Linked DNA regions of Homo sapiens: regions 1, 3, 4 and 5 are each linked to region 2. Evidence: promoter capture Hi-C in 16 types of primary human blood cells and fetal thymus (Javierre and others, 2016). All regions are on one chromosome and are shown on one strand. The core of a region is centred on a gene start or on the middle of the fragment in contact, and the rest is flanking DNA. Distances in the headings are between cores, read along the strand shown. Region 1 has its middle 170 kb from the start of NSUN3. Region 2 holds the start of EPHA6 (EPH receptor A6). Region 3 has its middle 200 kb from the start of NSUN3. Region 4 has its middle 270 kb from the start of NSUN3. Region 5 has its middle 190 kb from the start of NSUN3.

Region 1 (4,134 bases), core at 825-3,324, 2.6 Mb after region 2:
CTTGGAGACAGCCAAGTTCTGGAGGCAAGCGTAGGCGCTCCAGAGAACAGCTAGCACCAACCGCCAGATGTGTAAGTTAGGCCATCTCAGACCTTCTAGCCCAGGAGACCCTCCAGCTGAATGTTGCTACATGAGTGAATGAATCCAGATGAAATCAGAAGAGAAGCCACCTAGACAACCTACCAAATGGTAAGAAATAATAACTCATTGTTATTGTAAGCCATTGAGCTTTGAAGAGATTTGTTGTATAGCAATATAAACTGATATAGTATTGTTTTGTGAAGAAGTACATTGAAGCTTTTATTTGCCTTACAGTAATCTCTGACCCTGTGAAAAGAAACACAATACAGTCCTATCACATAGCGGGCACTCAATAATGACCTTGTGAAATAATTAAATGAACGAGTCCTGAGTGAATTTCCTTTAACTCAATAAAGATCTATGGTTTACACTCTGCGGCATTAAACCTCCATCAGCATCAAGATCAGGGCGCCATCTATTGGACACTCAGATAATTTGCAGAGGCAAAGTAGAGATGACTTCAAGATCCCTTCTTTAATGTGAAACTTAACTCAGTAACAGTTCTGAATGAGCCATATGCTTGCCTTAAAGAAGAAACTCATTATATAGATAACCCTATTTTTTTCTCTTCTCTATTTTTTATAATAGAGCAGCTTCAACACACAATGGTTTCCACTCTGTTATTAGCTTTGTTTTGTTTTGTTTTTAGAGATGGAATCTCGCTCAGTCGCCCAGGCTGGGGTGCAGTGGCACCGTCTTGGCTCACTGCAACCTCCTCCTCCCGGGTTCAAGCAATTCTCTGCCTCAGCCTCCCAAGTAGCGGGGATTACAGGCACCCGCCACCATGCCTGGCTAATTTTTGTATTTTTAGTAGAGACGGGGTTTCACCATCTTGGCCAGGCTGGTCTTGAACTCCTGACCTCATGATCCACCCGCCTTGGTCTCCCAAAGTGCTGGGATTACAGGCATGAGCAACCACACCTGAACGTCATTAGCTTTTTAAATAGCTACCCCAAAACACAATTCACTTTTTGTGGATACAGACTCTCCAATATCTAATGGGATTATTTCTAAGCCTTCATATTTAAAAAATAAAATTTAGTCCTCTGGTACACATTCTGTATCTAGTTAATATCAGAAGTCTCCAGGCATTTATACAGCTCAAAAGTAGATGTTTAAGAAATACCTTATTGAGAATTATTTTAATTGCCCCAACGGAAGATCTATTAACTATCCTTTGAAATCTTTCCAGGCTGAAATCACACCTGTGTTCTGTGATGTATAACTTTTGTGCATCAATTGCCCGTGTGAGTGTTGGAATATGACCAAATTGTCTTCCTAGGAAAACCTTGGCCTTGTGCACAGAATCTCATCAGGCACACATCCGTGAGAGATCACATGACCTTCGCGTCAGATGTGTGTGCTGTGTGGAAAAGAAGATTCTCCTTTTCTTGCTAACTTGTATGTTGCAAATAGAGATCAGAGGCCCATGCAACATCACCTCCACAAGCCATTTGGTACCTTTTAATTGCCATTTTATACACCTGTTCCCGGCCTGAGCAAGCAGTCAGGAACCCCTTTAGGAAAACTGACTTTATCTGTGATTAGGGATCTCCTCTTCTAAGAACAGTTTGGGGTATTTTTTCTTTTTCCATGGTCATAGGCTTCTTGTGACAGAAGAATCTGTGTGGCAGGAGTTCCTCCTAAAACAGGAAAGGCTGTGGTTAGGGTACTTCGTAACACAGCAGTGCTCTGAACAGGTGATGTAGAATGGGCCGTGGTGATGTGGTCTTCATTAATGTTAAATGTCAGAAGAGATATCAATCAATTGTTGAAGCACATACAGAATTTGTGCACTTAAAGCTGTTACCAAAAAGGGTAAACCAAAATCTCTTCTGTATAATCCTTATCAAAAGCATATATGAGAGACAGATGGACTAATGCTTCTGAAGTATTGCCTAAAGGTTATGCCATGCATCAGTTCCACTAAATATTCTAAAATGTATCCCCAGATCAAGGTAGATCATGAGGGAAGGACACATATATTTCATCATTTTAACCATCCCAGAATTTCTTTCTTTCTGTTTTTTTTGTTTGTTTGTTTTGAGAGTCTTACTCTGTCGCCCATGAATGCAGTGGCACAATCATGACGCACTGCAGCCTTGACTTCCTAGGCTAAAGCAATCCTCCAGCCTCAGCCTCCCATGTAGCTGGGACTACAGGTGCACGCCACCGTGCCTGGCTATTTTTTTCTTTTGTTTTTTGTAGAGATGAGGTTTCACCATGTTGCCCAGGCTGGTCTCAAACTCCTGGGCTTTATCCTCCCACCTCAGCCTCCCAAAGTGTGATTACAGGCATGAGCCACCACACTCAGCCCAAAATTTCTTTTTGTTTATTCAGCTATCTTCCTGTCAGGACTTTCTGCCATGTCCTCCTAAATGGTCTCCCATATACATTTTCATACCCCTCTAATGCATTCTCCACACACTAATCAGTCTGCTTCTTGAAAAATGTACATCTTATCACACATCTCCCTGAAAGCCTTCCATGACTTCCTAATGGATTTATATTAAAGTTGAAATCCTTAACATTGTCCATAGGGTTATGCATGATCTCATCCCCATCTGCCTCTCCAGTTCCTTCCAAGGCCATTTGACCTCCTTCAGTAACCTGATGGAGTTATAAGGGAGCAGGTCCAGAAAATAATATTTCTCTTCCCTACACGTTCTGCCTGTTTAGGCAAAAGAGCAAGGTAAATGAGACAAAAAAAAAAAAAAAACTCTATCACATCTAAAGATTATACTACAGAATATAGCTTTTAAATAAAGGGAGTTTTTGAACTCCAGAATTAGATTTATCCACCTAGGTTCAGGCAGCACTGAACAACTCTCCTCCTGACCGTGGACATAGCCTCAGCTGCTAAGTTTAACTCATTGCATTCTGTCAGCAGTCAGCTGCAGTACCACAGGATCTCAACATTTCAGTGCCTTGACACACAAAGGTTTACTCTTTACTCGTATAATGTGTCCGTCACGAGTCAACTGGGATTCTGCTCCACATCCCCTTCTCTCTAGGAACCAGTCTGAAGGAGCAACAACCATCTCAAACCTGGCTCGGTGCTATTACAGAAAGATAAACGGGGTTTTGGAAAGTCTCTCTTTTTGGCAATCACGTGCTCTGCTCCAGAAGTGAATCACATCACTTTCAATCTCAATCCAGTGGCCAGAACTAATAAAATTGTCCCACCAGTAAATTAAACCTTTCATGTGCCCAGAGAATGGGATGTTGGAGAGCAAAAGTAATGACTATCTCCATGGCCTAGAGTAACTGTGAGGAGGTGCTCTTGGCAGGTATGTCATCATCCTAAAAGACATGTGAGTAGAAGGTAGACTACATATACCAAAATTTGCCACTAAGAGTTTCGTGGAGTAGAATAGGGCTTCTTTAAATGAAATCCTTTTTCATAGAAGTCAGATGAATAGGGAAAGGGTATTCCCCTTTGACAAGACCCATTGTGAAAATTTGATGTTTGGTTCAATTGAAATTAAACATTAAGCATAATTTGAGTTAGGTATTCATCTGAAATCATGGGCAGCCTCATGTGGAGAAATACACTGTATAGAGCTTGCCAAATATGTAGAAGACTTCCAATAGATAACTTAAGTGGGTTCTAGAAATTACAATGTGGTATTGGCAATCCTCAAAGAATAAAGAAAGAAAGTGGTTTTGCAAGCTAATTTTTACATAGCTTTTCCCATTGGGAAAGTTGGGATGACTAACAGTATGATATGCTTGTGTATCATGGTATTCATTTTCTTTGATAAGCTTTTTAAAAAATATATTAGGTACATACAGAAAAGCGTACAAACCGGGATTGAATAGCCTGATATACTTTCACAAAATGAACATATCTGGATAATCAGCACTCAGGTCAAAAATCAGAACATCGCTGTCACCTCAGAGGGCCCCTTGTGTTTTCTTTCAGTCACTACCACCAACACCAACCTACACACTATAGATGGTGATTATACTTTTGAGGAGGGGAGTGGGAATGGAAGCAGGGGGAAAGAAGAAATATCATGTTTTGCCATGTATTGTTGTAATTGTACACAA
Region 2 (4,333 bases), core at 975-3,474:
ATGTCTGAAAGGTCATGCTTTAACAGGACATATTTTGGCAGAATGGCACTTTAGGGTCATTTGTAGATTCAGATATCTGTTTTATTTATGTTAGTATCCCCTGGGCCTAGGGTAGTTACTGATGCATCATAGGTATTTAAATAAATAAACATTGTTTGGGGAAATTATTGCATGGGAACAACTGTTACAAACTTCTAGTACACTTGACTCTCAAAGTATTCATCTCTAGTATCCTTACTTACTATTATAAAGTACAGTATCAATGTCTGACTTTCCAATTATTAAAAATTGTTTTGTCATAATAAAAAAGGGTAATCGTTACACGTTTTTTAACAATCTTCTACCTTCACAGAAATGAAGTTAACTACCTATTCAATATTTTATACCCACAGTCTTTGAAAATAAATGAGGGATGTAGTGTGATGGTATATACCACCACAGCAAAACAGGACACTGTAACTGATATCTATTATGTGATCTATCTTCAAAGCCATGAAGGTTATGTATGGTTTCCAAATTCACCTACACATTTGTGATTGCATTCTGTCAGTTTAAAATAACTGTAATAATTAGGAAAATATGCCAAAGTACCACTGTATAAATGAGAACAATTTAATAATTATATTTTATTCTGATTCTGAACATTTCTAAGTAAAATGGCCATATATGTTGATGACAAAGAAGAATGCTGTGTTGTTTATCTTCTCCCTTAACCTTCTCCTCACACAAAAAGTGAACACTTTCAAGCCATCTGACCTCCATTTTTATACCTGCAAATTACTTCGAGACTCTGAAACATATGCCTTATGTGTTAAATGATAACTATAACTGACTACCACACATAATATTTGAAGGGACATATCGGTTGGTCATTACAGCACGAGTGAGAGAATATCTAGCCAGATACATGCTGGGAAACTTTTATGGTTGTTTCATGCTTAGTCTGAAAGGACTTAGAATATGCAGGTGGTACTTTTTATAGATCTTTATGCACAGCAGAAATACAAGGAGATATATTTCATGAAGATTGTATGAATAGAAAAAGGGAAAATGCTCAAATATTCCAAGGGCTTTCCATCACTTTTTAACCACTATTTACCTTCACTTTACCACTTTACCCACCGAAACAAAGTCCTCCAAGCAATCTGTCAGTGACTTGACTTCATGAATAGGGTATTCACAACTTGGAAATTCACCCTAAACCCTTTTCTACTCCCTGCCCGCAAGAATATGAAACCCCTACACAGATCTGGAGCATCTGGTCTAGGAAGAATTTCGAGTAAGTCTACTTCGGTGGCCTGGATGGTAGATGAAGCATGGGGACTGAGGCTGGGCGAGGGCGGCAGTCACCGGAGGGGTGGGGAAAGACTGATAACTGGTCACGGGGTACAGCGGGAGCACCCTGCCTTTCAAGAAGGCATGTGGGAGAACCACACGTTCCCCTGAGAAGAGCGACCACCAAAGAGCCAGAAGTCTCCATTAAGTCTGTGCCACGGAGCCTGACTTCCAGTGGAGACAGCGCAGCGGGGAGCGGTCCCACGGCCGCTAGCGGTGGGACCCAACTGCAGCTGATGCTCACGCTACCGTTTAAAGACATTTAGAAACACAACGGATCCTAGCCTGTGGAGTCACCGTCCCGGGCGGTGTAAACAGGGCGCTAGGGTAAGGGGACATCCTCGATCCCCTCGTGTGGCGAGCCAGGAGACTCTGACCCCTGTACAAAGTTACCTGCAGGAGGCAACCAGTACCCTGGTTCTCCAAGCACCCTCCTCCTCCCACCCACTCCCGCTCCTCCGCCCCGTCCCTTACCTTGGTTGTTGGAGACGTGACTGCAGTCGCCTGGCCACGCTGTCAGCAGAGGCAAGAAGAAACCAAATTGCAAAAGAAATTCCCGGACTTCGCAGCCCCCCATGGTTCTCCTAGGCTCTCTTTTCCTCTCCCTTAAAGAGAAGTGGCGGCAGCGCAGGCAGGTGTTCTGGGTAGGATGGGGGTCCTTGTCCACGTCTTCTTCCTCCTCCTCCTCTTCCTCCTCCACCCGGCCCGCAGGGGGTGTCCCGGGGCGCCCCCTGCGCGAGGTCCCGGGAACAGGGCACGAGGGTCCAGGCTGCCCAGTTGCAGGTGCAGCTGCTTCGGAGGAGGACGCTGCCTGCGGCGCCGGGGAGCTCCTCGCGGCTGGAGGCGAGGGGAATTGCATCCACCACAGTGTCCCGCTTGCGCGAGGACTATTCACTTGGGCCGGAGAGAGCGCGCGCGCGCAAGAGCGAGCTCGGGCTGTGGTTTGGGGGAGGGGAGCGAGGGGGCGGGGAGCGCCTCACCGCGAGGACGGGGGCGGGGACGGACTGCCAGGTGGGGCGGGCAGTTGGGGCGGCCCGAGGACCTCTCCCGACTCAAGTGGGCACTTGCGGAGCCAAAAGCAGGGGAGGCGCTGCAGCTGTGAAGAGGCGTGGGGGCCGCGGGAACTTTCCTCTGGCCGGTGCGATGAAAGCCGGGCGGACGAGGTGGCTCAACGGGGCTGAGAGTGGTTCGGCCGAGGCGCGGGCTGAGCCCTCAGCACCTGGCCTGAGCGGCGTGGGCAGCAGCCTGCACCGCGGACACCTCCAACTCTGCCGCGTCTGCGCCGCACTCTGGCCGTGGCAGCGATTTTCCGGGCATCTCTGAGGCCGCCCTTAGTCCCACAAGCACTTAGCCGCCCATTTCAGAGCAGCGGCGCCGACCGTTTTAAGAGGAGTCAGTTCCCGACACCGCCTCCCACTTACTTCTCCACATTTCCACCGCTGGAGGGGGTGAGTGCCGTGGACAGGCGCTCCCGTCCGGGGACAGCTCAGCGGCGGCAGTCAGCCCGACCCTCCTCCGCGCGGGTCGCCCAAACTTGACCAGCAGAGCGAGCGGCTCAGCGCAGTAGCCGCCTTCGCGGCTTCCAGTTGTAGAAAAGCAAAGCGCCGGGAGGAAGCAGCAGAGGGGGGGTTACATGAGGCTGGAAAGTGGCGGGTGTACGGCGCCCGGGATCGCCGAGGTCCTTGCGTCGCCTTGCGGAGGTGACTTCGCGGTGGAGGTCACGAGCATCGTCGCAGCCTTGACGCTGGGATTCAGGGGTCCCCGAGCGTCCACGGCGTGGTGGCGTCGGGCCGCGCTCTCCTAGCAGTCCAAGGGCCGAGTGGCGCGTGGCCACATCCACAGCAGCGCAGGGGCGCCGTGGGCTGACGGCTCTCCCCGCGCGAGCCGCCCCCTCGCGGCACCCACTCCCTCCCCGCGCTCGGGTCTCCCGGAAGCCGAGGCGCGGGCCACTTGGTGGGACTCCGCGGCCCCCGCCCCAGGGCCGGGGCAACGCGGCGTGCTGACTGGGAGGACCCTCGGCGTCCGCGGTCTCCACCACCTCGCCCCGCGGCGGAGGCGGGCGCCCAGGGCAGGGACGGAGCCCGGAGCGCTGCAGAGCCCGGCCAAGCCCAGCCTTCTCCCGGCCTGGCAGCCGCGGCTCGGATGCCGCCAGTTCGGCGCTAGAGGGGGTTAGTCGACAACAAAAATGCCTGCACCGCTCGCAGGTGGAGGCGGCTCATCAGGCCAGGAACCGAAAGGAGGGAGGGATGCTGTCAGGCTAAACTTAACGCCTTGGTTAAGGGCGCGTCAAGGAAACCGTATCGCTTGGGTGGGGATTTCCGTGATACTTTATTTGTTACTAGTATTTCCAACATCATTTTTCTTTCTTGAAGGGACTTCGGCTATCACAGTCGAGGGAGGTTGAAAACCCCACTTCAAAACCCGTCGGAATGTTTTGAGAAAATGTGGATGGTAATGGAGAAATGTGAACAGAGGAGAGAAAGTAGCGGTCTTGTAAAGGATATACGATATTTTCCAAGTGGGCAGAAAGCACAGGAGGGAAATGGCACAGTGACAAGAGGTCAGGGGAGCGGGAGATGGAGCCAAGGGTCGGCGTTTGACGCTTACAGAGTTCTGGAAGGGAAAGGACCCTTCTATTCCATGCATTCCTGCGCTGCGATGTTTTTGTGCCACACACCATAGCTGAAGAAGTTTCACTTAATGCCTTACAGTAAATTGGAAGGAAAGAAAGAATGAGAGCAAGAAATGTCCCATGTCAAAAATTCTGCTGCGTGGAGAGAAATGGTGAAATACAAGCGATTTGGAGAATGTGAGGAAGGGTTCTGATTGGTGACTATACTCTCATTCTCATTAGGAATTCATACACCTCTGCCTCTCTTTGAAGGTGTGTCCACACCAACTTAAATGTATGCAAATCATTTCTAAAAAGATACCATGTGTGGAGTTTATATATCGGCACTTAAGAGTAAAATCTGACTTTGATACTCATTTTGCCACT
Region 3 (4,169 bases), core at 1,616-4,115, 2.5 Mb after region 2:
AACACTGCAAATGTCTCCTGGAGGACAAAATCACCTACGGTTGAGAACCACTGTGTTCGCGAGACAGTCACTGTGTTCATGAGATGGTTCTGCTTTTCCTCTTTTGTAAAATGAAGAGATCATATCTCTGTCAAAATGTTGTTAATTAAATGAGATATTTATTGTTAATAAATATCTTCTACAGATATTTATTAATATTGACCAATTCATTTTTAACTAATGGGTTTTGCCTTTATGTAACCACTTGCTTGGGGTTTTTCTAACTCACCTAATCATAGGCACTAATTAAGCATTTTATCAAATACAGATAGTTACCATTTAATCTTTTTTTTTTTTCAACAAAGTAAGGTAAATATTCTTGGTCTGTGCCTATTTACCAGGAACAGAGGCACATTTCCCATTCAACTCAACAGTTATCTCTCTGATTGCAACACAATATTTGATTCAAAAATTCATATTCAGTTTTAGAAACACTCACAGGGTAGACAACTGCCACTACATTTGACAGTGCCTTTTACATTTCAGCAGCTTTCCCCCCCAATCTGCATTACAATTCAGTAGAGGATGATCTACTATAGCAAGAAATGGTCTGGACAAGCTTCTGATTAGCAGGAGGTTCCAAACAGCGGTGTCTCTGCCAGACAGATGTCAGCAGAATCCAACCTCCCAACCTTGTTGCAACTGTGCACAGGAGCTGCCTAACCATGGTGCTGTGACATGCCCATCATTGGTTAAGATTTCATACAAAGATGTTCAATAACAAATCCATTTTTTCAGAGGTCAATATGTATTGGCCCTTCCAAAACCACCCTGGCATCAATCCCAGGACATAATTTATTGCCTAATAAGCAAGCAAGCTTTTCAATGATTTGCTCTCCCCCAAATCCCATTCTTTATGATTTGGCTGTCCTGATGCCAACTCCCAGAAACCTGAGGCTAGGTGGGAAGGGGAGGGGGGTCCTTAAAGAGACCGTCAATGCTACATAAAAATTTGGAAAAAATGGAAGCACCTTTACCTGATTTGGTAGTTGTCACTGATTGATTCACACTGCATTCTTCTAACTCCTCTTTCCAGAAGTCTGAGTCTATGTTAGTATTATAGTTTCCTATCAACAGCTGTCCTTTCATTTTTCCTCCCCACTTTCATTTTGCCCAGAAATCCTCTATTTAATTCCACCCACATGCTCCAGTCTAGCCACCCTGGAGAAGTTTCTGAGTTAATCAGTAAGCTTTAGCTTTTCCTGGCTAAAGCAAAGGGGCAGCTCAGAATAAAAGTCATCTTTGGCCCTTTGCATTGGGGCTTCCACCTAATTGCCTTGCCCTGCCTTCTCTCTTTGCACATCTCTTACACACTTGCAAGAGGTGGAGTTCTTTCTCCAGCAGCTGTGTCTAGCTTATGGACTGCTCATTCCTCTTCCTGACACCCGCTTCTCACCAATACTTCAAGTTATCTTCCCTGGCAATGGTCCTTCACCCGACGTCATTGACAGTCTGGTGTTAGAACACTTGAGGTGTCAGGTAATGCTGAAGTAGACTACATTTGACAAGATAACGTAGCTTCAGAAATTTTGGGCAATTATGGGCCAAAATCATTGCGTACAAGGGAAAAATAACTCCTACATCAATGCAATTCATCCTTTTAAAAGTAAGCTGTTTTACTAGTATTTTCCTTCTAGCATTTTGTTAAGTTTAATAGCTTACTGAAGACCACAAGAGGAAGAAAGCTGGAGAATGTGGAAGAATTTCTAGCCTAATACATTGTTATTCACATTTTTTCTAAATAATCTAGTTCTGGAAAAGAGGATTTGTAAAAGGTAATGAGGGATTAGTATTGGTTCAACACTCTTTTCCCTCTTCCACCCGATCCCATGCTCTGCTTGAAATCACTGAATGGGGTATAATATCAACCTGTCAATACAATCAAGTTCAACCTATTACATTTAGGTTAAACCTGAATTTTCTTACAAGAGTACCAAGTCTAGAAGCTTTAGAAGATGAAACCAATGTCCTCATATGAGATTGAGAGAGTGCTGCGTGACACTAGTAAGATCATCTATGTCAATATATCTAGCAAAGTGTTTCTACAGCTATATCTGTACACAATTTTTGGATATTTGGCTTACTATAGAAGTTTGATAGAAAAAGAAGTATAAGGGTAAATGATGGAAGAACTGTTTTGATAATTAGCAGAGCAGAATGGAAAGGTAGAGACAGAAAAACTGTTATTTTCACTTTCTGCTTCTGGACACCAGAAAGAAAAAGAAAAATCACTGCCCATGGTAACCTCTGAGATGGCAATTTGAGACATTCCAAGTATTGAAATTCTAAAAGAAAGAGAGTATTACCAGGCCAATGCTAGAAGAATGATGAGAGATTGCTTGGGCAATGCCAAGGGGATGAAGTAGGCTGTGGGATAAGAGAGCACACAGACAGGGTGTCACTCATTAGCTTTGTAGGATAAACTTCTCTCCAGGCTCTGGCCCTCAGCCACGTCCCTTATTTTGTCAGGACATCAAGAGTAAATCCATCTTTCAGGGCTAAATTCTTATTAGCAAGTTTATAAAAGGAATTTGTAAATCCAGAATTGGATAACACGTTGGATAGCAATGTGTTTTTTATGCAAAGGATTTGAACCATAGCAATTTAGCTAACTTAGAACTACATTTCCCATAATTAACTTCCCAGTGGTCCAGGAGAGCCCTTTTGCATAAGTTTTGCAAGTTAGACTGAAGCAGTGGCCATATTGTTTTCATCCTCAGGCTGGTACAGGGGCACCAGGCACTCTACCAACCCATGCTCATTGACACCTCAGCTGACACTGGATTAACATGGGGCAACACCTAGCCCTGCAGCTGCTCCAACCTACCCTCAGTTGTCCTTCAGGTTCTCTGTCTTCTTGGCCCATGTGTGTGTTAAGCTCTATGACAAAGGGCATCAATTTCTCCTGCAGGCCACCAGCACCATTGAAGTTGGAGGCAGAGTGAGACCAGGGTTTCAATCCATCCTCTTGGACTGCAGCTTGAGCCAATGGGTTACAGTTTTCCTTTCTCTCCCCACTCCAAATCTGTCTTCTTTTCTTGAAAGTCCTGCAGACTTTAAGCTCCAGAAAAGATGCAAAGGCAACAGCCTTGCAGAGGCTGATTAACCATCTCCCATGATTGCATAAGGTACAATCTGTATAAAAAAATCTTAGTGGTTCTGCTTCTCTGATCCTACCCTGACTGTTAAAAGAAAAAAAAAAAAAAGCTAGTTAAAAGATAGCTAGTATGGGTCTCAAATTCTTCAAGCCCATGTGACAAGCATACTTCTCTGTAGACAGAACTAACTGAGAATGAAATAATAACCAGAAGTTTGCTTAAAAAACTTAGAAACAGAACCGAACATTAATTAAGTGAATGAAACATGTAATGTAAAATAGATGTCTTCATATAGCATCTTCTTGCCAGTTTACTGTAATCTAAGACTCTCTTCTCTGAACTATGTTAAGATAGACTTTTCCAAAGTGTGCCTCTATACCCTTTTCAATATGGCCAAGAGTGAATGACCAATGTCTGATTGATACTTTTTTCCTTTGATGCATTAATCATTCAATCATAGTTCAATCTACATTGTTTTTTGTTTTGTTTTGTTTTTGTTTTGGTCAGCATGAGATGACTTTGTGTATCTCTTTTCTCATGTCTTATAACCCAAATACTGACCAAAAAATACAGGAGATCACATTTCTTCCCCACAGTTGAGAAGCTTTACTTCATTTCTTAGGTTCTGCAAGTTAGAGATAAACTTAACTTCTCAAGCAATCTTTTTTATGAGGCAAATACCCTGTGGAGGCTAGCAGACTTTTTCATCTTAGTATGAATTAACTCCATCTGCTTGCTTTCTTCTTGCTGTGGTCAGCTGTGCTAAAAGAATCGGTTTTTTTAGCAGAGTGTTAGGAAGGCAGAAAAATTGTTTTAGAATGCAGGGATCTTTGAGGGAAGAGGAACCCAGTTGAATCATCACAGGAGAAAGTGGGCAGACTCATGCAGTCTAATGGTTCAGGGCTTCTGAGAAGCAGGAGAGGGAACATGCTCAGGATATGTTTTCTGACTCTAAATTCTGAAGTCATAAGTACTTCAGTAGATGATCTAGATTCTTCCATAGATTCTTTCAAGTCTCAGACCTTGATTGAG
Region 4 (4,631 bases), core at 1,931-4,430, 2.5 Mb after region 2:
TAGAAGCGCAATGGTAAAAACAGAGGTCAGATAGGAGGCAAGAGATGATGGCTTAGACCTGGGTGACAGCAGTAGATGTATTGAGAATGGTCAGATCCTGGATATAGTTAAAGGTTCAGCTGCTAGGTTTCCCTGAGGACTTGGATGTGAGGTCCAGGAGAAAATTAGTAGTCCAGGATGACAACAGGGATTTTGGCCTAAGATACTGGAAATAGAAAATTGTCATTTACTAATATGGGAAAAAAACTGATAAAGGCATTGGCTTTGGGGAGAATATAGAGCTCAAGTTTAAACATGTTAAGTTTTAAAAGCCTGTTAGACACCTAGATACAGTGGTCAAGTAGGCAGCTGGAGCTAAAGAGAGAAGTGTGGAGCAGATAGATGTGTATATAAATGTGTGAGTCTTTAGTGTACAGAAGAATTTTATAGCCTAATGATTGAATAAGACCAAGGAAGGAGATGTCAGCAAAGAGATTGAGTAGGATTAGACAAATAGAAGGAAAACTAGATGAATAGAGTGTTTTAGAAACCAAGTGAAGATAGTACTTCAAGAAGTAGTGACAACAGTTGTTGAAACTGGTTCTCTATGTGCTCAAGTCATGATGGCCTTATGGTTTGCTTCTCTATTATGCCTTCTTTGTATTAGCTGATGTTCATTGTAGTTGGTTATATCAGATGACTCATTGAATGAGTAAAAGTACTTGAGCACCAGGGCTAATAATAATATATGAATAAGGTGGTTACCAAGACAATTTACTAGTGGGAATGTTTTGGATTAAGCTATTCAATACAATTGAACAAATATATATTAAGTTCCTACTATTTTTAAGATGCCTGGAAATCAGAAAAAGAGAGGCAACCAATGTCCTATAGAAATTCACCATCTAAAAGGATTTATTAAAGCTGGCACACAAATAACTTAAATACAAATTGATAGGGTTTAAATGGCTCCTCCAAAACCAACACTGAACTTTAATTGCCATTGTGATGGTATTAATAGGTAAAACTTTTAGGGAGTGATTAGATCATGAAACCTCTGCCCTCATAAATGGATTAATGCCATTATCTCAGAAGTTTGCCCTCCTTTTCCTCTATCTGTCTCAAGTACTTTTGCCTCTCTAGCCCTTTCTCACCATGTGATATCTTTCATCATGTTATGAAACAGCAAGGAGGCCCTCACCAGATGCAGCCCCTTGATCTTGGACTTCCCAGTCCCAAAAACCATAAGCCAAATAAGTCTCTTTTATTTATAAATTACTGAGTGTGTGGTATTCTGTTATAGCAGCAGAAAATGGACTAAGACATAAACTGTAATGGGTATGAATGTCATTCCACAAAACTCAGGTGGGCAAAAAGTGTTAATTTGTTTGTTTTCCTATATCTTAAGTTAATTTTGTATTTTTGGTTCCCATTTGATCAAAATGAAATCTTAAGTCAAGATAATCACCTTTGTTCCAGGGGTTTTGTCATAAATCGAGGGTTCTTAGGTGATGCCTCAATATAAGGGAATGAGGAGATGGTATTTTTCCTTATTCAAGAGCTCCTCCTGCTGCATCCTCTGAGATAAACATGTTAGGACCTAACAGTTACTGACCTATGTAAGTTGGCTTCAAGTTTTCCCAAGAGTTCCTGTAGGAACTCTCCAGGTGTGGTGCACTCTCTGTCTCGGTTTCTCTCTCTCTCTCTCTCTCTCTCTCTGTCTCTGATGTTTTCAACATCTCAGAAGGAGAGAAAACAACCAGCTGCTTTCCATTGCTGCTGTAAGTTGTGAGAAATTCTGTGAGGCTGCTCTACGCTCTCTCATTTCAGACATGACACTGAAGCCTTCCTTTTGCTCTCACATGATACTGGGCACCAGGGGGAGGTCTGGTCTTGGGATTTTCTTGGTTATTCACTGGGAAGAAGAGAATGGATCTTGCTTTCAAATCTGGGATTTGTCTGTGCCTTTCCAGTTTTCAAGCAAGTATGGAGGGGCAGAGCATAGCAGCTCTACCATACATAAACGCTCTTACTTATCTTCTGATTACTTCTTTCTTCTCAGTCCAAGCAAATTTTATTGAGTCACTAGGGTTGGGAAATACTAATTCTCTCTGATCATGAGTTTTTCCAACTTGATTGTTTATTTTAACTTTAAGCTTTAGAAATTCCAAAGTCTTTCACCCAACTAGGAGTTTTAAAAGTCTTTTCAAATGGCCTTTCAAAAGTTGGGTTTTTTTTTTTCTCTCTCTCTCTGTTTCTGATTCTGGTCATATTTATTCCATGAAACATAAATGTGGAATATTTTAGCTACCTTCTCTAGAAGAAAGATTATAAAGAACTACAGTCCATATCTCAAAGTATTATCCTACTACATTTCTCCCACTGGCAAATACTTGCATTCTTTAACAAAAACCCTTATTCCAAAGCTCCCTCCATGCTAAAAAGGTGAAGATTTACTTGAATTTGTTTCTACAGAATCTTAACTCCTTCATGCAAACAGCCATGGGTACTGTCTTAGTCGGTCATGTGCTGTTATAACAAAATATCACAGACTGGTTAATTTACAATAAACAGAAATTTATTTCTCATAGTTCTGGAGCCTGAGAAGTCTAAGATCAAAGTACCAGCATCTGGTGAGGGACTTCTTGCTGTGTCATAACATAAGAGAAGGACAAAAGGAGGGTGAGAGATAGAAAAGGGGGACAAAATTATAGTTTTATAAAGAATCTACTTGCATAATAATGAGCCCACTTCCATAACAGCATGAATCCATTCTTTACGGTAGAGCCTTCATAGCCTAATCACCTTTTAAGAGTCCCATCATTTAATACTGTTACAATGGCAATTAAATTTCAACATGAGTTTGGAAGGAGACAAACATTCAAACCATAGCATCTATGGTTTTCGCCACACCCTACAAGGTTGTGTTATAAGCTTAGAAGTTAGGAGAAGTTTTCACCTCACTGTATTGCGTCTTCACTCACTGTCTCAGGTGTCTCTCCATTCTCAGAAACAACTTTATTTCCTTCCATCTACAGGAGCTGAGCCATGGGTATAGGTAGAGCTTCTCTATCCTCCTATCACCATAGTTACCTGAATCTAGCCCCTAAGAAACCTCGCACATTCCATTCTGGTACAATGATGGTTCTCAATTGTTTTTGTCTAAAGTCGTCAGTGATATAAACTGACTCCCTACTCAATCTCTACCCATGCCTTCTTTCTACCAGAGTTGCATCTAGCAACTGAACATCAGCTATCTGGCTCAAGAAAGAAAATAAATTATGTCTATTTCCTTAAAGAACCATAGTGTTTCCGTAACTTTTCGACTCTGGTTTCCTCCTGCAACTCCTCAAGACCACCTTAGTTTCCACCTAACCAGTGGTGAACAGGTTACAGATACAGTCCACCTGCAGATTGGTTTTCTTATAGGAAGGCAAAAAGAAGAAAATCGATGTGTGTGAAGCTTTTAAATACTCTCCTTAAAATGTCTCTCCTGAGTTCTACTCTTCCACAATTATTGAAGATTAAAGAGTTTCTATAATTCACTTGCAAAATTATTTGACATGTTGAAATAATTCAGTTAAAACTTTATTTCTATAGTTGGTATGCTAAGTTTTCAATTTCTTAGCTATTTTCTCTTTTACTAAAAAAAAAGAGCATGGTAGCAGAAAGTTAAACTGGAGTAAAATAGCTAAAATAATGTACTTTAAAATCTATTTTGTTTATGCTGAAAATGTCTTCTGAAAGGCCGTATTAATATTTACTTTATTTTATACGTCTAAATTTTTTTTAATTCTGGGGTTATGGAATTTGAAAATTGTTTGATTCTAATTAATCAGAATTTTCTTTTATTTAGTTCTGGAAACCCATAAAAAGTTATTAGCTGTCAGCAGCTTTAATGCCAGTTTATTAGAGGCCCTGATTCAGTGCCTGCTGATAGTTATTGTGAAGGCTGAAAGGTTAACAAGAATGGGCTGCTACCAACCGCCTTGCCAGGTGTTTTTCCCTGCAGTTAATGGACTTGAGCCAATTGAAATTATTACTCTAGAACAAGTTGCAGACACTCTTAATCTTCCCATAGAAACATTGCTAGGGGAAAAAAAATCTGGGATTTGTATTGTTGCTTTTCACCATTGTAAAATTTGGAACAATTAAAATAAACTATAGCTAATCTTCTATTTGTAAATGAAGGCTTGACAACTCTAAAAAGAAAGAAAGAAATCTTTAAAAATAATGTGCATGTGTAGCATGTTTCATTAAACTAATAACAGTCCCTTCAATGAAACAATGTGTTGTAAAACCTTTCCCAATTTTTCTTTTGAGGCATGGTGGTTAAGGGCTACATAAGTATTAACATGTCTAAGTTCTTTTAATTGCTGGGTTTATAAATCTGAACAGCTGTAATGAAATAATCAGAAACAACCAGATGGAATTGGAGCCAGTCACCATGGGTATTTGAGAAGTGCATACTGTTTGGGGAGACTGAATATGTACTGATCCAATCTAAAATGGAGCAGATGGCAAAGCAAACAGGTAAGCATTTGCTTTATCTTCCAGATATTGTGATTCACTGATTACCTCTATTTATTTTGGGAACTTTAGAACATCTGTAAAAATCAGATGAAAGACAAACAGAGGTGACTGCAAAATAC
Region 5 (4,174 bases), core at 1,104-3,603, 2.6 Mb after region 2:
CTGAGGGCAGCCCTGAGATATAACCTAAAAGACTTTATTTGTATAAGATAACCTTTGTTGATGACACAGTTCAGCCTCTCACCTTCCTGTAACTGGCTAGTCCCATTCAGTTTCCTAAAAGAATCATTTACAAACGACTGTCTGCTCTTTGAGCCTATTCATTTCCCCTGAAAATCGTTTACTATTCCTCACAATTCCCTGCATCCCCCATTTCCCTCTCCCCTATGAAGAGGGGTATCTAAGCCTCAACCATCTGGCCCTTCTTTGTGTCTCATATTTTGTATGACTCTCATGTTTATGAGTGTTAATACATGTGGATGCCTTTTCTCCTATTAATTTGTCTATTGTCAGTTCTTTTCAACAGACTCAAACCTTCAGAGGGGAGAAGTAAAATTTCTTTGCCCCTATACGAAAATCTTGTGACTAATGATGCAAATAAGAAAACCCAAAAAAGTAGACTTAAATCAGAAAAAAACAGAATCAAATCTGTGTATCCCACAGTCTGATCGCAATGCAGGTTTCTGCCATAGCCTCAGAGAAATCCTAATGTGTTTTGACATATTTATCTGTGGGACTCTGCCATTGCATTAGCATTCTTCAAATTATTTCTACATTTAAATTGATTTCAATTACATAGACATTTTCAAACATTAATATTCATTTGAGATATTTCTGATATCTTCTTGGTGTGCTAAACTTTTTTAGGCACTAGTTCATAATTAACCCACTCCACATGTAACTGCTGGAGAACAACCCTATGAAATTCTGATTAGTATAAGAGCCTTTTTGCATATGCTCAAATTTCCTAAATTATAAACATTTCATTGACAAAGAGCTCACCAAGACTGCACTTTCAAATTTCTCTCTTCCCCATTGTTTGAGAATAAGTAACTCGGGTGAGGAAGAAGCTAAAACAACTAAGAGATTCATTGGCTTGTTATGAGTTAGAAGGGGAGGAATTTGGTTCTGCGGAAGAGGTTAAAAGCAGAATAAAGAGCTCAGAGGGACATAAAAAGATAACTTGATCCCTTCTTGTGAATTTCCTGAAGGACTTAGTATGAATGGAATGGATTTCCCATGGAAACTTATTTTAAAAACTAATTGATTTGTGCAAACAGAGGCATGATGTACAATTTCAGGAGCCATGGGCAGAAGAAACCATGAACATTAAACTCAGAGAAATGAACAGCACTTGCAGGGAAGAGTCATGGAAGCAATGTCATCTAAATCTCAATGTGTAGAAAAACCCACAAACGTTATCTGAGACACATTAAAATTAAATGAAATTATAGACAAAATACTTGTCCCCTAGAAAGCATCTAAGAAACAACAGTTGCAGCTATTATATTATCTCATTTAGGCTTCACAGCTTATCTAAACTTGAATGCAACGAAAGGTTTGGGGCTCCATTCCCCATGTTAGGCTGGAATGCGAGGTAAGGCAACACTGCCCCCTGGTGGTCTGCTCTGTGTAAAGTCTTATTGGCGGAATTTGAAATAGTTACTCAGCTCCATTCCTGCTCTTGGTTGGGATCCAGGGATTGATGGGAGTGAATTTGAACTTGTGTTGCAATTGAAGTACTATCTTGTCTGAGGCCTGAAACTTCCCCAAAGTTGTATTAGAATAGAGAGAACGCCTGGAATCCAGAGAAAAACCTACTGTAAGTGAAGAGTGGTACAGATGGAGCAGCAGAGTGGGGAATTGCAGAGGAACTAGCAGTTCCAGGTGAAGATCCTGCTAGGGTTGATCATCCCTTAACTTTAACCTTCTAAAAGTTCTGTCCTCTGGAAAAGAGAAGGTGCAATATTAAGAGGTAGTCAGTATCACTAGCGATGTAACAGCTTTACAATTAAAATGTCAGCTGAAGATTTCCTGGCCAGTGGCTAGTTGAAGAGATTAGTAAGAGTCAATGGGGTATGGGAGGTTGACAGCAGCATGGCAGAGGTCTACGGGTGGCCTGGAGGTCAGCACAACAGAAGAGCTCAGCACCAGCACAGGCAGAGGCTGGGCAACTGGTCCTGCTAGTCCAACAAAAATAGGAGTAGAGAGATTGCTGCTCTGCAGGCAGAACTTTTCAGAATCACCCTCGTTTCTATCCAGCCACAGATCCCAGAGGGAATAGCGAAGGAGGTCTCAGGGAGAAATCTTCTGTTAAGGACTTGTCAGGGAACATATTCACTGGCCAAACTATTTACAGTTTATAACCATTTAATAGATGTGAAAACTGAGATTCAGAAGCTTGGTCAAGTTCACACAAGTAGCTTTTTTTCTAGCAGAAAGATTAGAACATAGATCTATGTGATACTGATTTCTCTTTTACTTATACTGACCTAGCTCCCTTTTATAAACAAACAAACAAAAAACAAACACACAAAAAAACGCTTGGGTCTTCAGAGACATCTATGCCTCTGCTCCTTCCAATTTTAAAGTTTTATTATTTCACTTTACACTTAATTACATAAGCTTCTTCTAATCTTTTTTCTAGAGTAGGTGGAAGATAAATACTACATAAAATAAATTATACTTCTATGGAAAAATATTGTACAAGTTCCAAACAACTGGCCTTTGCATGAGCCTTTATAAAATAACCTTTTAATGATTTGAGGTCAGAATCTATGTGGGCCAATCAGAGGATTGTTTCACAATCTACCAACAGGCTCCATTAAAATAATAAGAAATAAATCATACTTTAAACAGCTTTGAAAAGAATATTCTGAAAGGTTAAATTATCTGACCTTGATGGATATCTTTCAATATATAGTAATTTACAAATTTATGCATATGTCAAAGAGACTTGATGTGACAAAGTTATGTTCTTAGAATTATGCATTTTCTTCTTTCATAGACTTTTAGTCTAAACTTCCAGTGAGATGGAAATAAGCAGAATTGAAAATAATGGCTGAGTCACTAAGAAATTTGTTAGCATACTTAATGTTAAAGAGAGTTGTTTTTCATAACGGGTAGAGAAATTTAATCACCAAGCTTCCTTGGAGGGAAGGAGGCCAAAAACTGTTTTCTAGTGTTTTCATAGGATGAAAGTGTGGACAATAATAATTTAAAATTAGATAGACTGGGATACACTGAACCTCAGTTCTGGTTGCTATACTATTTAAATAGTGCCTACCACTACAACTCTGATTTCCAGATAAAATATCAAATGTTTTCTTTTTTCATTTATTTACAGAATTTGATTTTTTAAACCATATTTCATGGTCCTTTTGGAGAAGAAAAATTGTCCTCAAATAATTTACATTTGACTTTTGGATTTCCCCCACACTTCTTTGTGGAGGAGGACGCTTGATTCAGTGGAGCTCAACTTCCAGCCCACAACCATACCCCGAAAAGGAGCTTCCATTTGAAAGTTACCATGATCTCAGTGTAAGCAAACAGGCACTCAAAGCTTTGAGAGGAATGTATAACAATATATTTTTATGACTTGGTAAAGATGTCCCTCAAATACCCTTCTAGCAGATGAGCTTATTTATTAGTAGAAGATAAGTGCATTAGCAATTAGTATTTGATCACTCTAGTATTTCAAGCGGAAGGAGAATTAATACAAACAGTATTAATTCTTGCTTATCAAACTATCAGACATGCTGGAGGAATAGAGGTCCGGAAATACAGACTCTTGCTATCAGTGATGGCCATTACCTCTCAAACATTCAGAAATTTGCAGTAACCACAGGAAGACACTGACAACAATCAGAGCTGCCTCTAGCACTGAGGTGGATCATTCCCAGGGCCATATCTGGAAGCCCCTGCAAAATCCGACATCACTTGAAGCCCACATTTCTGATCACTACTGCCAAGAGGAGCAATAATGGATTTCCGCGTTTCTTTCACTTTCCAAATCTCATATCTTCTATGTGAAGCAAATTTCTGCCTTCCCCTCTATGTCAGAAACTAGAAGTTTTCAGGCAGCATCAAGTCTTCCAATCACTAAAGATTTTTGGCAGAAAAAGATTCTAGGATCCTCTAAGAAGCACTTATGGTTAAGGACCAGGGAATCTGAATTGATGACCCAGACTTGACTACAACTATCTAAGAGGTTATATGGTGAGGCTTAGTTCTCACACAACATGTAGCTGAAGTTGGATGCTCTTTCAAGCCAACTGGGTCACACTCTGGAAAGAACAGCTGAGCATATGAGCATGAACTAAAAAGATGCAATTCT

What was found. Contacts are between HindIII fragments. The CHiCAGO score rates a contact against its expected background, and 5 or more counts as called.
Region 1: a contact is called between a fragment that was not itself captured here and the fragment with the promoter of EPHA6 in region 2, in 1 of 17 cell types (erythroblasts). The highest score is 7.7, in erythroblasts.
Region 3: a fragment that was not itself captured here is called in contact with the fragment with the promoter of EPHA6 in region 2 in 1 of 17 cell types (M2 macrophages); the score reaches 5.7 in M2 macrophages.
Region 4: a contact is called between a fragment that was not itself captured here and the fragment with the promoter of EPHA6 in region 2, in 2 of 17 cell types (megakaryocytes and erythroblasts). The highest score is 15.5, in megakaryocytes.
Region 5: a fragment that was not itself captured here is called in contact with the fragment with the promoter of EPHA6 in region 2 in 7 of 17 cell types (M2 macrophages, M1 macrophages, endothelial precursors and 4 more); the score reaches 24.9 in M2 macrophages.

Annotation. Positions count from the first base shown.
Region 1 is chr3:94,230,745-94,234,878 of GRCh38, reverse strand. No RefSeq gene overlaps it. Among named protein-coding and RNA genes, the nearest start is that of NSUN3, 170 kb to the right of the region's middle. The HindIII fragment of the contact is 3,549 bases long and covers 300-3,848 here.
Region 2 is chr3:96,812,485-96,816,817 of GRCh38, reverse strand. It overlaps EPHA6 (EPH receptor A6), which reads right to left and starts at 2,224. Exons shown (of 18, transcript NM_001080448.3): 1 at 1,810-2,224. The coding sequence starts at 2,194. LOC124909397 (a long non-coding RNA gene) reads left to right here and starts at 2,411. Exons shown (of 2, transcript XR_007095974.1): 1 at 2,411-2,783; 2 at 3,708-4,333. RefSeq lists silencers at 3,139-3,258, 3,319-3,388. The HindIII fragment of the contact is 10,030 bases long and covers 1-4,333 here.
Region 3 is chr3:94,263,594-94,267,762 of GRCh38, reverse strand. No RefSeq gene overlaps it. Among named protein-coding and RNA genes, the nearest start is that of NSUN3, 200 kb to the right of the region's middle. The HindIII fragment of the contact is 1,756 bases long and covers 1,988-3,743 here.
Region 4 is chr3:94,333,445-94,338,075 of GRCh38, reverse strand. No RefSeq gene overlaps it. Among named protein-coding and RNA genes, the nearest start is that of NSUN3, 270 kb to the right of the region's middle. RefSeq lists an enhancer at 3,091-4,631. The HindIII fragment of the contact is 529 bases long and covers 2,916-3,444 here.
Region 5 is chr3:94,246,987-94,251,160 of GRCh38, reverse strand. No RefSeq gene overlaps it. Among named protein-coding and RNA genes, the nearest start is that of NSUN3, 190 kb to the right of the region's middle. The HindIII fragment of the contact is 225 bases long and covers 2,241-2,465 here.